Regions from separate parts of the Homo sapiens genome. Here all the other regions are linked to region 2. The links are contacts of gene promoters, found by promoter capture Hi-C in blood cells and fetal thymus (Javierre and others, 2016). All regions are on one chromosome and are shown on one strand. Each heading gives the region's core, a stretch centred on a gene start or on the middle of the fragment in contact. The rest is flanking DNA. Distances are from core to core; before and after follow the strand shown. Region 1 has its middle 41 kb from the start of YEATS4. Region 2 holds the start of LRRC10 (leucine rich repeat containing 10). Region 3 overlaps YEATS4 (YEATS domain containing 4).

The links. The method cuts DNA at HindIII sites, captures the fragments that hold promoters and counts their contacts. A CHiCAGO score of 5 or more calls a contact.
Region 1: a contact is called between a fragment that was not itself captured here and the fragment with the promoter of LRRC10 in region 2, in 3 of 17 cell types (M0 macrophages, M1 macrophages and M2 macrophages). The highest score is 6.0, in M0 macrophages.
Region 3: a contact is called between a fragment that was not itself captured here and the fragment with the promoter of LRRC10 in region 2, in 1 of 17 cell types (M0 macrophages). The highest score is 5.8, in M0 macrophages.

Annotation. Positions count from the first base shown.
Region 1 is chr12:69,398,448-69,402,602 of GRCh38, forward strand. It overlaps a transcript of YEATS4 not described here and the pseudogene RN7SL804P. Among named protein-coding and RNA genes, the nearest start is that of YEATS4, 41 kb to the left of the region's middle. The HindIII fragment of the contact is 1,872 bases long and covers 1,694-3,565 here.
Region 2 is chr12:69,608,788-69,612,586 of GRCh38, forward strand. LRRC10 (leucine rich repeat containing 10) reads right to left here and starts at 2,120. Exons shown (of 1, transcript NM_201550.4): 1 at 1-2,120. The coding sequence starts at 2,051. The coding sequence ends at 1,218. The HindIII fragment of the contact is 9,863 bases long and covers 1-3,799 here.
Region 3 is chr12:69,378,645-69,382,618 of GRCh38, forward strand. The region is part of intron 6 of YEATS4 (YEATS domain containing 4); the gene reads left to right. Among named protein-coding and RNA genes, the nearest start is that of YEATS4, 21 kb to the left of the region's middle. The HindIII fragment of the contact is 4,107 bases long and covers 1-3,974 here.

The DNA.
Region 1 (4,155 bases), core at 1,380-3,879, 210 kb before region 2:
CATTTATAATAACATCTAAAAAAATAAAATACTTGGGAATATAACACCTAAAGTGCACTCAACCAAATAAAAAATAGACAAATTGACTGGATGCAGTGGCTCACACCTGTAATCCCAGCACTTTGGGAGACAGGGTGGGTGGATTGCTTGAGCCCAGGAGTTCAAGACCAGCCTGGGCAACATGGCAAAATCCTGTCTCTACTAAAAAAATATAAAAATTAACTGGGCATGGTGGTGTGCACCTGTAGTCCCAGCTACTTGGGAGGCTGAGGTGGGAGGATCGCTTGAGCCCAGGAGATGGAGGTTGCAGTGAGTCAGGATCATGCTACTGCACTCCAGCCTGGGCAACAGAACAAGACCCTGTCTCAAAAAAAAAAAAAAACGGCAAATTGATCTTCATCATTAAAAACTTTTGTGCTTTGGCCGGGTGTGGTGGCTCACGCCTGTAATCCCAGCACTTTAAGAGGCTGAGGCAGGTGGATCATGAGGTCAGGAGATTGAGACCATCCTGGCTAACATGGTGAAACACTGCTTCTACTAATACAAAAAATTAGCTGGGCATGGTGGCGGGTGCCTGTAGTCCCAGGTACTCAGGATGCTGAGGCAGGAGAATGGCGTGAACCCGGGAGGCGGAGGTTGCAGTGAGCCAAGATCACACCACTGCACTCCAGCCTGGGCAACAGAGTGAGACTCCGTCCCCCCCAAAAAAACAAACAAACAAACAAAAAAACTTCTGTGCTTCAAAGGACATTCTAAAAAAAGTCAGAAAAAAAAAACAAACCCACGAAATGGGAGAAAATATTTGCAACTCATATATCTGACAAGAGTCGAGTATCCAGAATATATAAAGAACTCTTACAACTCAACAATAAAAAGACAATTAAAAATTGGGCAAAAAATTTGAATACACATTTCTCCAAAGAAGATATTCAAATGGCCAATAAGCATATAAAAAGATGCTTAACATCATTTGGAAATACAAATCAAAATGATGATAACACTTCACATCCACTAGAATGGCTGCAATAAAAGAGACAGACAATAGTAAGTGTTGATGAGGATGTGGAGAAATTGAAACTCTCATATATTTCTGGTAAAAATGTAAAAAGATGCAACTGCTGTAGAAAAAGTTTCAGAGTTCCTTAAAATGTTAAACATAGAGTTACCATATGACCTCAAAATTCTTCTAGATATATACCCAGGAGAATTGAAAACATGTCCACACAAAAACTTGTGCATGAATATTTATAGGAGCATCATTCAGAATAGCTAAAATTGGAAACAATCCCCATGTCCATCAACTGATGAATGAATAAATCGAATGTGGTGTATCAATACAATGGATTATTACTCAGCAGTAAAAATGAATGATGTGCTAAACATGCAGAATGAATCTTATAAACATGCCAAATGAAAGATGCCAGACACAAAGGCCACCTACTGTATGACTCCACTTATATGAAACATCCAGAATAGGTAAATCCATAGAGACAGAAAGTGATTAGTGGTTGCCAGGAGATGGGTGGGGAAGGGAGGATGGGGAGTGACTGGGTGCAGAATTTTTTTACGTGGCGGTGATGGAAAAGTTCTTGAATTAAATAGTGGTGATCGTTACACAACCTTGTGAATATACTAAAAACAACTGACTTGTATACTTTATGGTATGTGAATTATATCTCAATTAAAAAAAAAAAGCTTAGTGTTACCATTTACTGAATACTTTATGTGCCCCATACTCAAGACAAGCCAGTGAGTACATCTCTTATCCCCACTTAGCAAAACAGGTTCAGGGAGATTAAGTGCTTTGCCCAAGGTCACATACTAGGAAGTCATAGAGCTGAGACACACAAAGCCCTAACATTCACTTAGCCACCAAGCTGTATTGATCAAAAGTTTTTAATAGTTTCCATTACATATCTAATAATACTCAATAAAATAGAAATATTTATTGTGTGTATATAAACAATACATTAATATGTATGCCATATATATATATATGTATATCTCCTACAAATTGATGAAAAAAATTCAATAGAAAAATGGGCAAAGAATATGATCAAGTAATTCACACATACAAAAAATACAAATGGTAATTAATAAATATTTGAAAAGGTATATGGCCAGGCATGGTGGCTTACGCCTGTAATCCCAGCACTTTGGGAGGCTAAGGCATGAGGATCACATGAGCCCAGGAGTTTGAGAACAGCCTAGGCAACATAGCAAGACCCCCCCGCCCAATTTAAAAAGTTTAAAAAAAAAAAAAAGGATGTATGAATTCACTAGTAATCAGAGAAATGCAAATTAACACAAGACAATTGTTGGTTCATTATAAAGACAAAATTTAAAGATGTCTAATATTCAGCCACAGAGAGTGAAAGGAACTTGGTACTCATACATTGTTGGTGTGCATTAAGAGTAATAGCCACTTAATATTACCTATCAGAATTTAAAATTTACTGAGTGCAGTGGTGCGTGCCTGTAGTCCCTGCTATTCAGGAGGCTGAGGTGGAAGGATCGCTCAAGTCTAGGAATTCTGACCTGTAGTGCACTATGCTGATCTGGTGTCCACACTAAGTTTGGCATTAATGTGGTGACCTCCGGGAGCAGGGGACCACCAGGTTACCTAAGGAAGGGTGAGCCAGCCCAGGTCAGAAATGAAGCAGGTCAGAACTCCCATGCTGATGAGTAGTGGGATCATACCTGTGAATAGACACTGCACTCCAGCCTGGGCAACACAGTGAGACCTTGTCTCTTAAAAAAAAAAAAAATTGAAAATTTACCATTTGATCAAGTAACTTCACTGATAGGAAATACTTTCATGTGTAAGGATGTTCATTGCTTGTTTTAATAGTGAAAAAATAGATATAAACCAAATGTCTACCTATGTCTACATAATTTCATGTAAATTCTCAGAAAAATATTACCAGGAGTTATTTTGGGGGAAAGCAGTGAAACTGGAGCTGGTGTTGGGGAGCATGAGTAAAGGGCTAGCAAAACTGTTTCCCTTTCTGCATGAGAACTCGACCTTTGGTGGCCAGTAAGGATCTTGCTGTGGGAACCTAAGCAGTGCTGCTAGGTAGACTGCTGCAGGGAGTCCTGGAAGGACATGCCCATGGCCCGATGGCAATCTATGCTTCCTTTGGAGTATCCGCTGAAGTATCTGAGTGTGGTCTAGATTGTGAGTTCATGTTTAGTTGAACCTAAAAAGACCTCCTGTTGGGCAGAGCTGGAAATTAAAAGTAAATTTGTAAGTTAAAAATTAGTTCATATACACCATCCATTTCAGCCAGTAGGATCTTCATGCTGTTCCTTAAATGTACTCTGAGGTTTCTTGTCTCTCACACGTTCTACTTTCTTTTGTTAAAGTATTTCCTTCCTTCCAGGCTGAAATTGCCTGCCAGCAAGTAAGCTCACCCTCCTCTAAACTACCTTAGCATCTTGCTTGCCTCTGTTTCACGGTGTTCAGCTCACCTAGAAAGGGAAAACTGGAATGGGTGATCTCCCAGATGCAGCTGTGAACCTAGGATTTTAACCCTAGATTTGTATTCCCATTCTTCAGACGGTAAGCTTTTTGGTGAAAGAGGAGGCGTTAGTCTTGTTTATCTTGGTAAGTGTGTGTAAAGCCCTTGGTAAGCCTCTCATCTGGGAAGTGCTCCATGGCATTTTACTGTTCCCTGCCAATTAACTTCCAGGGCCCGTCCTGGAACTATTCCACACCAGGGCCTAAGTCTAGTTACAGATCTTGGCTTTTCCTCTCTCTATTCTAGCCTGTCTCAATGCCAGGCACAGAGTCTGGTCCAGTTGTGTTCCAAGATATCACAAATAAATACATAGCTCACTACATGTCAAAAGTGAAAACCCCTAGATTTGGCCTAAAATGGGGCCATTCGTTGTGGGCCTAATTATGCTAGGGTTGTTCCTATACCTAAAATTTTAGGAGGTTAGACAAATATATAGTATGCTTTTTGTTGAGGTTTGGTGACCATAACTAAGCTATTTTTGTATCTCCAAAGAGCAACCTAAAGTCCCAGGACTGCTCTGTCCAGTCTTCTAGAGTTGGGATCCACAAACTTTTTCTGAAAAGGGCCAGATAGTAAGCATTTTATGGTCTCTGTCGTAGATCCTAAACTCTGCTATTGTAGCACAAAGGCAGTC
Region 2 (3,799 bases), core at 870-3,369:
CCTTTAAACTAACATGCTTCTGGAAATGTGGTTTTCCTCCAAGGACAGGGATTCAATTTAGCTCAGCTCTGGCTCATTAGTGTGAATAAACAGAAGGGCTTTGCTTCAGGGAGGTAGACAGGAATCACAACAAGGCTTGACTTTAATGAGACCACATTACCACAGAGGTTCTCTTTTCCAGATGACTTCCAACATTGTCAGTGACAGTCAACTGTTGGGAGCAGATCTTGGGACAAACCTTTTAGGGAAAATGAACTAAATCAGCATGAGCCACTGTCAAGTTTAAGGTGACAGCTGAAGGCTGGGTGTGGTGGCTCATGCCTGTAACCCCAGCACTTTGGGAGGCTGAAGCAGGAGCATCGCTTGAGCCCAGGAGTTTGAAACTAGCTTGGGCAACATAGCAAGACCTCATCTCTACGAAAAAATTAAAGACTTAGCCAGGTGTGCACATCTGTAGTACCAGTTACTGGGCAGGCTGAGGCGGGAGGAAGGCTTGAGCCCAGTAGTTCGGGGCTGCAGTGAGCCATGATTGTGCCACTGCACTCCAGCCTAGCAACAGAGTGAGACCTTGTCTCTAATAATAATAAAAGGGGCAGCTGGAGTCCACCAAGAAGTATTGTCCATCAGGGATCTTTTCAGCAGGCACTAAACTGCTGGGGAAAGAGTTTCATCTTGAGCCTTTACAACAACAAACAACTTTTTTCTGTGAATCTGACTGATTGCCTAGGTAGAAATGTCCTTTTCGGTGGCCTCAGTGATACATTGATACTGTTTATGGTCATTTACAGTAAAGAAAATATGTCCTGCAAAGAGACAGACCACCAGAATATTTAGTTCTATGGCAAATACCTTATTTGAGGAGCTCATGAGCTTCATGACCAGTCACTTCTGGAGAGTGCAGGAGTTCAGAGTGTCCCAGCCCCTTTTGCTCTTCAGTGTTTCAAAATACATGTGTGGAGAAGCTGTTTTCTTGCAAAGAAGTTATGATCTCTGGATTGTCATGCCATCATTGGCACACAACTCCCCTCTGGAAGAGGAGCTGTTTGCCAGAAATATTTTCTCAGTGTGATTTATGGCATTCCACCTGGCTCTCTCCATCAGTCTCTACTAGCAGAGCCACTCCCAAATGACCCAGAGCCATCCTTTCCACTCCAATGGAGAGGCTTCCAGAACATGCTGCAGTTGGGTCCTTGGCATTGACTTGCAACTGAAGCTCCTCAGGAGTTGGTAGGAGGAAGTAGAGGGACTGGTGCCTGTAGCTCCTGGCTTTCCTCTCTGACCAACGCATAGCGCCTGGCTTTTCTAGGGTCGGGCTCTGGCGTCTCCTCTGCCCATCTCCCCACACGGCGCACACCTTTGGCCACCTTGGGTGCGTTCCTGCAAGGATTGTGGTCATAGATGACCAGCTTCAGACTTGACAGGTGCGCCAGGCTGGGGAAGTAACGGATGCTGTTCCAGTCCACATCAATCACCTCCAGGAAGGGCATGTGAAGCAGCACAGTGGGAAAGTCAGTTAGCCGGTTGCCCGAGAGCCAGATGGTCCTCAGCTCCTGGAGGCGCCGGAGCTGGCCTGGCAGCAAACGCAGGGCGTTGGAGCCGGCATGCAGAGTCTTAAGGAGACTCAGCTCACAGACCACATCCGGCAGCTGGGTGAGGCAGTTGGCCTCGATCCACAGGGTCCTGAGGTTCTGGAGCAGGCTCAGCTCACTGGGGAGGTCGCAGAGTTTGTTGTTGCCCAGGTAGAGGATGCAGAGCTGTTTCAAGGTGCACACCACCTGGGGCAGAGCCTTGAAGTTGTTGAAATCCAAGGCCAGAATCTGCAGGTTCTGTAGCTGCCCCAGCTCCGGAGGCAGGCTATTGAGGTGGTTGTCGCTCAGGTAGAGCTTGACCAGCTCCCTGAAGGAGCACACGTGCAGGGGGAAGCGGCGTAACTGGCTCCCACTCAGATCCACCATCTTGTCCAGCGGCATCTCACGGAGGTCCCTGACCACATAGTTCTGGCAACGGTCAGCAGGGATGAAGGCCACGAGGGCCCTGATGGTGTTCCCCATGCGGAGGCTGGGGGCATGGCGAGCCCCAGAGGACAGACTCACTGAGCGGGGCTGGCTCAGCTGACTGCTCTGGGGCCTATCCTACCCTCCCATTATAACTTGGGGATTGCATGACAAAAGCCAGTCACTTTGACAGAGAAAAGTGCTCCTGATAGCAACTTGAGTGTCCGGCGACAGCGCAACAGTCCGGCAGGGGCTGGGAGGCCATGTCTGACTCACATGCTTGCCTTTAATCACCTAAGCCCCAATCCCCTTTATCAACCTTTTTTCATTTCAAGCTGAAAATAGCTTTGCTGTTTTTTTCCCTAATGATAAAATATTAACACATTACATAAAGGTGTAAAAGAAGAAAATGAAAAACACCCATAGTTCTATTACCCAGAGATAAATACTGTACACATTTGCATGTGTCCTCTAGTCTTTTCGCTATAAGTAATCATTTGTTTTTTAAAATTGCACTTTAGGAGCTTTTTTTTTTTTTTTTTTTGACAGGGTCTCATTCTGTCACACAGGCGGGAGTGCAGTGGTGCAATCTTGGCTCACTACAGCTTCTACCTCCCTGGCTCCAGCAATCCTCACACCTCAGCCTCCTGAGTAGCTGGGACTACAGGTGCACACCACCGTGCCCAGCTAATTTTTGTATTTTTTGTAGAGATGAGGTTTCGCCATGTTGCCCAGGCTGGTCTTGAACTCCTGGGCTCAAGAGATCTGCCCGCCCTGGCCTCTCAAAATGCTGGGATTACAGGCGTGAGCCATGGTACTTGACCAGGAACCTTATTTTTTAATCATGACGTATCATGGACATATTTTCATGTTTGCAGATATCTATGCAATTATTTTAAACCCCTGCATAGTATTCCATTACATGGATGTGCAGTAATTTAAACAGTTTTCTGTGGTTAGGCATCTAGGTTGTTTACAAAGCATGACTATTATAAACATCCATGTGCATACAGATGTGAGCAGCAATCCACTCATTTCTTTAGAAACCGTCCTTAGAAGTGTTGCTGGAGCAGGCCAGGTGTGGTGGCTCACGCCTGTAATCCCAGCACTTTGGGAGGCCAAGGTGAGCCAATCACTTAAGCCCAGGAGTTTGAGGTCAGCTTAGGCTACATGGTAAAACCCCATCTCTACTAAAAAAAACAAAAATTAGCTGGGTGTGGTGGCACACACCTATAATCCCAAGTACTTGGGAGGCTGAGGCAGGAGAATGGCGTGAACCCAGGAGGCGGAGCTTGCAGTGAGCCGAGATTGCGCTACTGCACTCCAGCCTGGGCGACAGAGCAAGACTCCATCTCAAAAAAAAAAAAAAAAAAAGTGTTGCTGGATCATAGATATGCATCATTTACAGGTTTTTCATTGATGGCTCCTCTGTACCCCACCAAATCTGAGCCAGTACACACACCCACCAGCAATGGTTACAGGTTTCTAATTTCTCATGTCTTCATTCTTATCAGATGATATCTTTCCACAGTTTAAAAACTTGCCTTTGACAAAAGATAAGTAGAAAAGCAGAAGAAAGAGAAGCAAGCTAGCCTTCTGCATGTTAAATAAATTCGGATGTATTCCTACAGTGCACCTTTGTCAGGTATGTTTGACCACCCATTAAAGGTTTGTGTTTCCCTTCCACAGTGTCCAGTTGTTCCAGACAAGCAGCTGTCCAGCCAGGACAATTTCCTAGTGCTGGTCTACAGGGGAAACTCTTCAAGTTCTGGCCAAAGTAATGTGGGCAGAAGTGTTAGATGTCA
Region 3 (3,974 bases), core at 724-3,223, 230 kb before region 2:
AGAAAGCAATAAACACTTTATATTTTAACTTCATCTCCCCACTTTTAACTTTTTGTTGTTTCTATTTATATCTTATTGCTATCTATGTCTTGAAAAATTGTAGTTATTATTTTTGATCGGTTCATCTTTTCATATTTCTACCTAAGACTTGTGTAGTTTACAAACTGCAATTACAATGTAATAATATTCTTTGTTTTTCTGTTTACTTGCCAGTGAGTTTTGTATCTTCAGATGATTTCACATTACTTATTAACATGCTTTTCTTTCAGATTGAAGAACTTCAGCATTTCTTGTAGGGCAGCTCTGGTGTTGATGAAATCTCTCAGCTTTTGTTTGGGAAAGCATTTCTCCATGTTCGAAGGCTATTTTCACCAGATGTACTATTCTAGGACAAAAGGCTTTTTTTCCTTCAGCACTTTAAATGTCATGCCACTTTCTACTGGCCTATAAAGTTTCCACTGAAAAGTCCACTACCAGATGTATTAGAGCTCCATTGTATGTTACTTGTTTTTGTGTTTATTTCCTCTTGTTGTTTTTAGGATCCTTTCTTTATCCTTGAGATTTATGAGTTTGATTATAAACTGCCTTGAGGTAGTCTTCTGTGTGTTAAATCTCCTTGGTGTTCTATAACCTTCTTGTACTTGAATATTGATATTTTTCCCTGAATTTGGGAAGTTCTCTATTATTATCCCTTTGAATAAACTTTCTACTCCTCTCTCTCTCTATCTCCTCTTTAATTAAGGTCAATAACTCTTAGATTCTACCCCTACCCTGCCTTTTTATTTTGAGACAGGTCCTGACTTTGTCACCCAGGCTGGAGTGCAGTGGCATGATCTTGGCTCACTGCAACCTCCACCTTCCGGGTTCAAGCAATCCTCTCACCTCAGCCTCCTGAGTAGCTGGGACCCACAGGCACATGCCACCACTATGCCCAGCTAATTTTTTTTTTTTTTTTTTTTTTTTTTTTTTTTTTTTTGGTGGAGATGGGGTTTTGCCATGTTGCCCAGGCTAGTCTCGAACTCCTGGGCTCAAGCAGTCCTCCCTCCTTGGCCTCCCAAAGTGCTGGGATCATAGGTGTGAGCTGCTGCACCTGGCCTGGATTTCCCCTTTTCTAGGTTATTTTCTAGAACTTGTAGATGTGCTTCATTTTCTCTTGTCTCCTCTCACTGTGAATTTGCAAATAGCCTCTCTTCAAGCCCACTAATTCTTTGTTCTGCTTGATCAGTTCTGCTATTAAGTGACTGATGCATTCTTCCATATGTCAGTGGTGTTTTCAACTCCAGCATTTCTGCTCGATTCTTTTAATTTCCATTTATTTATTAAATTTATGTGATAGGATTCTAAATTCTTTATCTGTGTTATCTTGAATTTCTTTTGAGTTTCCTCAAAACAGCTATTTTGAGTTATCTTTCTGAAAGGTCACATATCTCTGTTAGAGATTGGTCACTGATGCCTTATTTAGCTCGTTTGGTGAGGTCATGTTTTCCTGGATGGTCTTGATACTTGTTGATATTCATCAATGTCTGGGCATTGCAGAGTTAGGTTTTTATTGTAGTCTTTGTAATCTAGGTTTGTTGTACCTGTCCTTGGGCAGGCTTTCCAGGTATTTGAAGGAACTTAGGTGTTGTGATCTAAATTTTTGGTCACTGCAGCCATATCTGCATTAGGGGATACCCCAAGGCCCAGTAATGCTGTGGTTCTTGCAGATTTGTAGGGTACGACTTTGGTGGTCTTGGATAAGATCCAGAAGAATCCTCTGGATTAGCAGGCAGAGACTCTTGTTCTCGTCCCTTACTTTCTCCCAAACAAACGGAGTTTCTGTTTCTGTGCTGAACTGCCTAGACCTGAGGAGGGATGACACAAGCACCCCTTTAGCCACCACCACTGGGACTGCCTTAGGTCAGACTTGAAGCCAGCACATTACTGGGTCTTGCCCAAGGCCCACTGTAACCGCTGCCTGGCTGCCACCTATGTTTGTGTGAGGCCCTAAGGCTCTATAATCAGCAGGTGATGAAGTCAGCCAGTATCAGGGGAAATTCAGCCAGATATCGGGTGAAATTCACCCCCAATATTTCACGTAGGTTCTTTCCTATTTTCCCTAAGTGCCGGCCAGTCTGAGAAATAAAGGGACAGAGTACAAAAGAGAGAAATTTTAAAGCTGGGTGTCCAGGGGAGACATCACATGTCGGCAGGTTCCATGATGCCCCACAAGCCACAAAACCAGCAAGTTTTTATTAGTGATTTTCAAAAGGGGAGGGAGTGTATGAATAGGGTCTGGGTCACAGAGATCACATGCTTCACAAGGTAATAAGATATCACAAGGCAAATGGAGGCAGGGTGAGATCACAGGACCGGGGCAAAACTAAAATTGCTAATGAAGTTTTGGGCACATATTGTCATTGATAACATCTTATCAGGAGACAGGGTTTGAGAGCAGGCAACCGGTCTGACCGAAATTTATTAGGCAGGAATTTCCTAGTCCTAATAAGCCTGGGAGTGCTACGGGAGACTGGGGCTAATTTCATCCCTACAGCTGCGACCGTAAAAGACAGCCGCCCCTGAAGCAGCCATTTCAGAGGCTTACCCTCAGGGACACATTCTCTTTCTCAGGGATGTTCCTTGCTGAGAAAAAGAATTCAGCGATATTTCTGTCATTTGCTTTTGAAAGAAGAGAAATATGGCTCTGTTCTGCCTGGCTCACCGGCAGTCAGAGTTTAAGGTTATCTCTCTTGTTCCTTGAACCAATTGCTGTTATCCTGTTCTTTTTTCAAGGTGCCCAGATTTCATATTGTTCAAACACACATGCTCTACAAACAATTTGTGCAGTTAACGCAATCATCACAGGGTCCTGAGGTGACATACATCCTCCTCAGCTTACAAAGATGACGGGATTAAGAGATTAAAGTAAAGACAGGCATAGGAAATCACAAGGGTATTGATTGGGGAAGTGATAAGTGTCCATGAAATCTTCACAATTTATGTTCAGAGATTGTAGTAAAGACAGGCGTAAGAAATTATAAAAGTATTAATTTGGGGAACTAATAGATGTCCATGAAATCTTCACAATTTATGTTCTTCTGCCATGGCTTCAGCCGTTCCCTCCGTTCGGGGTTCCTGACTTCCCGCAACATCTCTCCCTTTCTTTTTATATAAATGTGCCATGGTGATGAAGGCTTGTTCATTCTCTTGATTTTTACCCAGGATTCTTTGACTGGTCCGGCACACTAAAAACAAGCTGATTAAACAGAGAAATGTAATTCCACAATTTACTACAGTGGAGCCCCCAATAGACTTAATCCAAGTCGTGGGGTTTAATCCATAAAGATTTTCTGCCACCTGATCTAACGCCTCAGCTCCAGGCACAATGGATAAGTGAGCTTGAGAGGCTTCAAAAATTTGTTTCTTTAATTTAGTTATGTCCAATGATAAATTATCTTCCCTACCCAGAAGGCGTCCTTTGACCATTTCCCATGAATAATCAGTCTCATTATAGGAATAGGGGATGATACAGAAATCCAAAGTATTCCAGTTGCACTGCATTTGCATGCGATGTTCGAGACTCACCACCCAATCTCCAAGCCAAATAACAGACTGTCTTAAATCATTAATTTGATTAGCTTGTGTCCATCCCTTAAGGGCACTGAGTTTCCCTGGGCTGCGGGTAGGTCCAGAGATTCTGTCCAGGAGCCAGGGCCTGGAGTTGGAAACCTTAGGAATAATCCTGGTGCTCTGTTTTACTGTGGCTGAGCTGGCACCCAAGCTACAAGACAGCATCCTTCCCATTCTTCCCTCCCCTTTTTCCAGGCAGATGATTCTTTCCCTGTGTCCACCACTACCACAGGCCCACAAGGAGTTCTGTCAGGGTACCACAAATATTTACTTAAGGCCCAAGGGCTCTTCAGTCAGCTTGTGTTGAATACTGCCAGGCCTGGGACTTTCCCTTCAGGGCAGTGGGCTCCTCTTGGCCTAGGTAG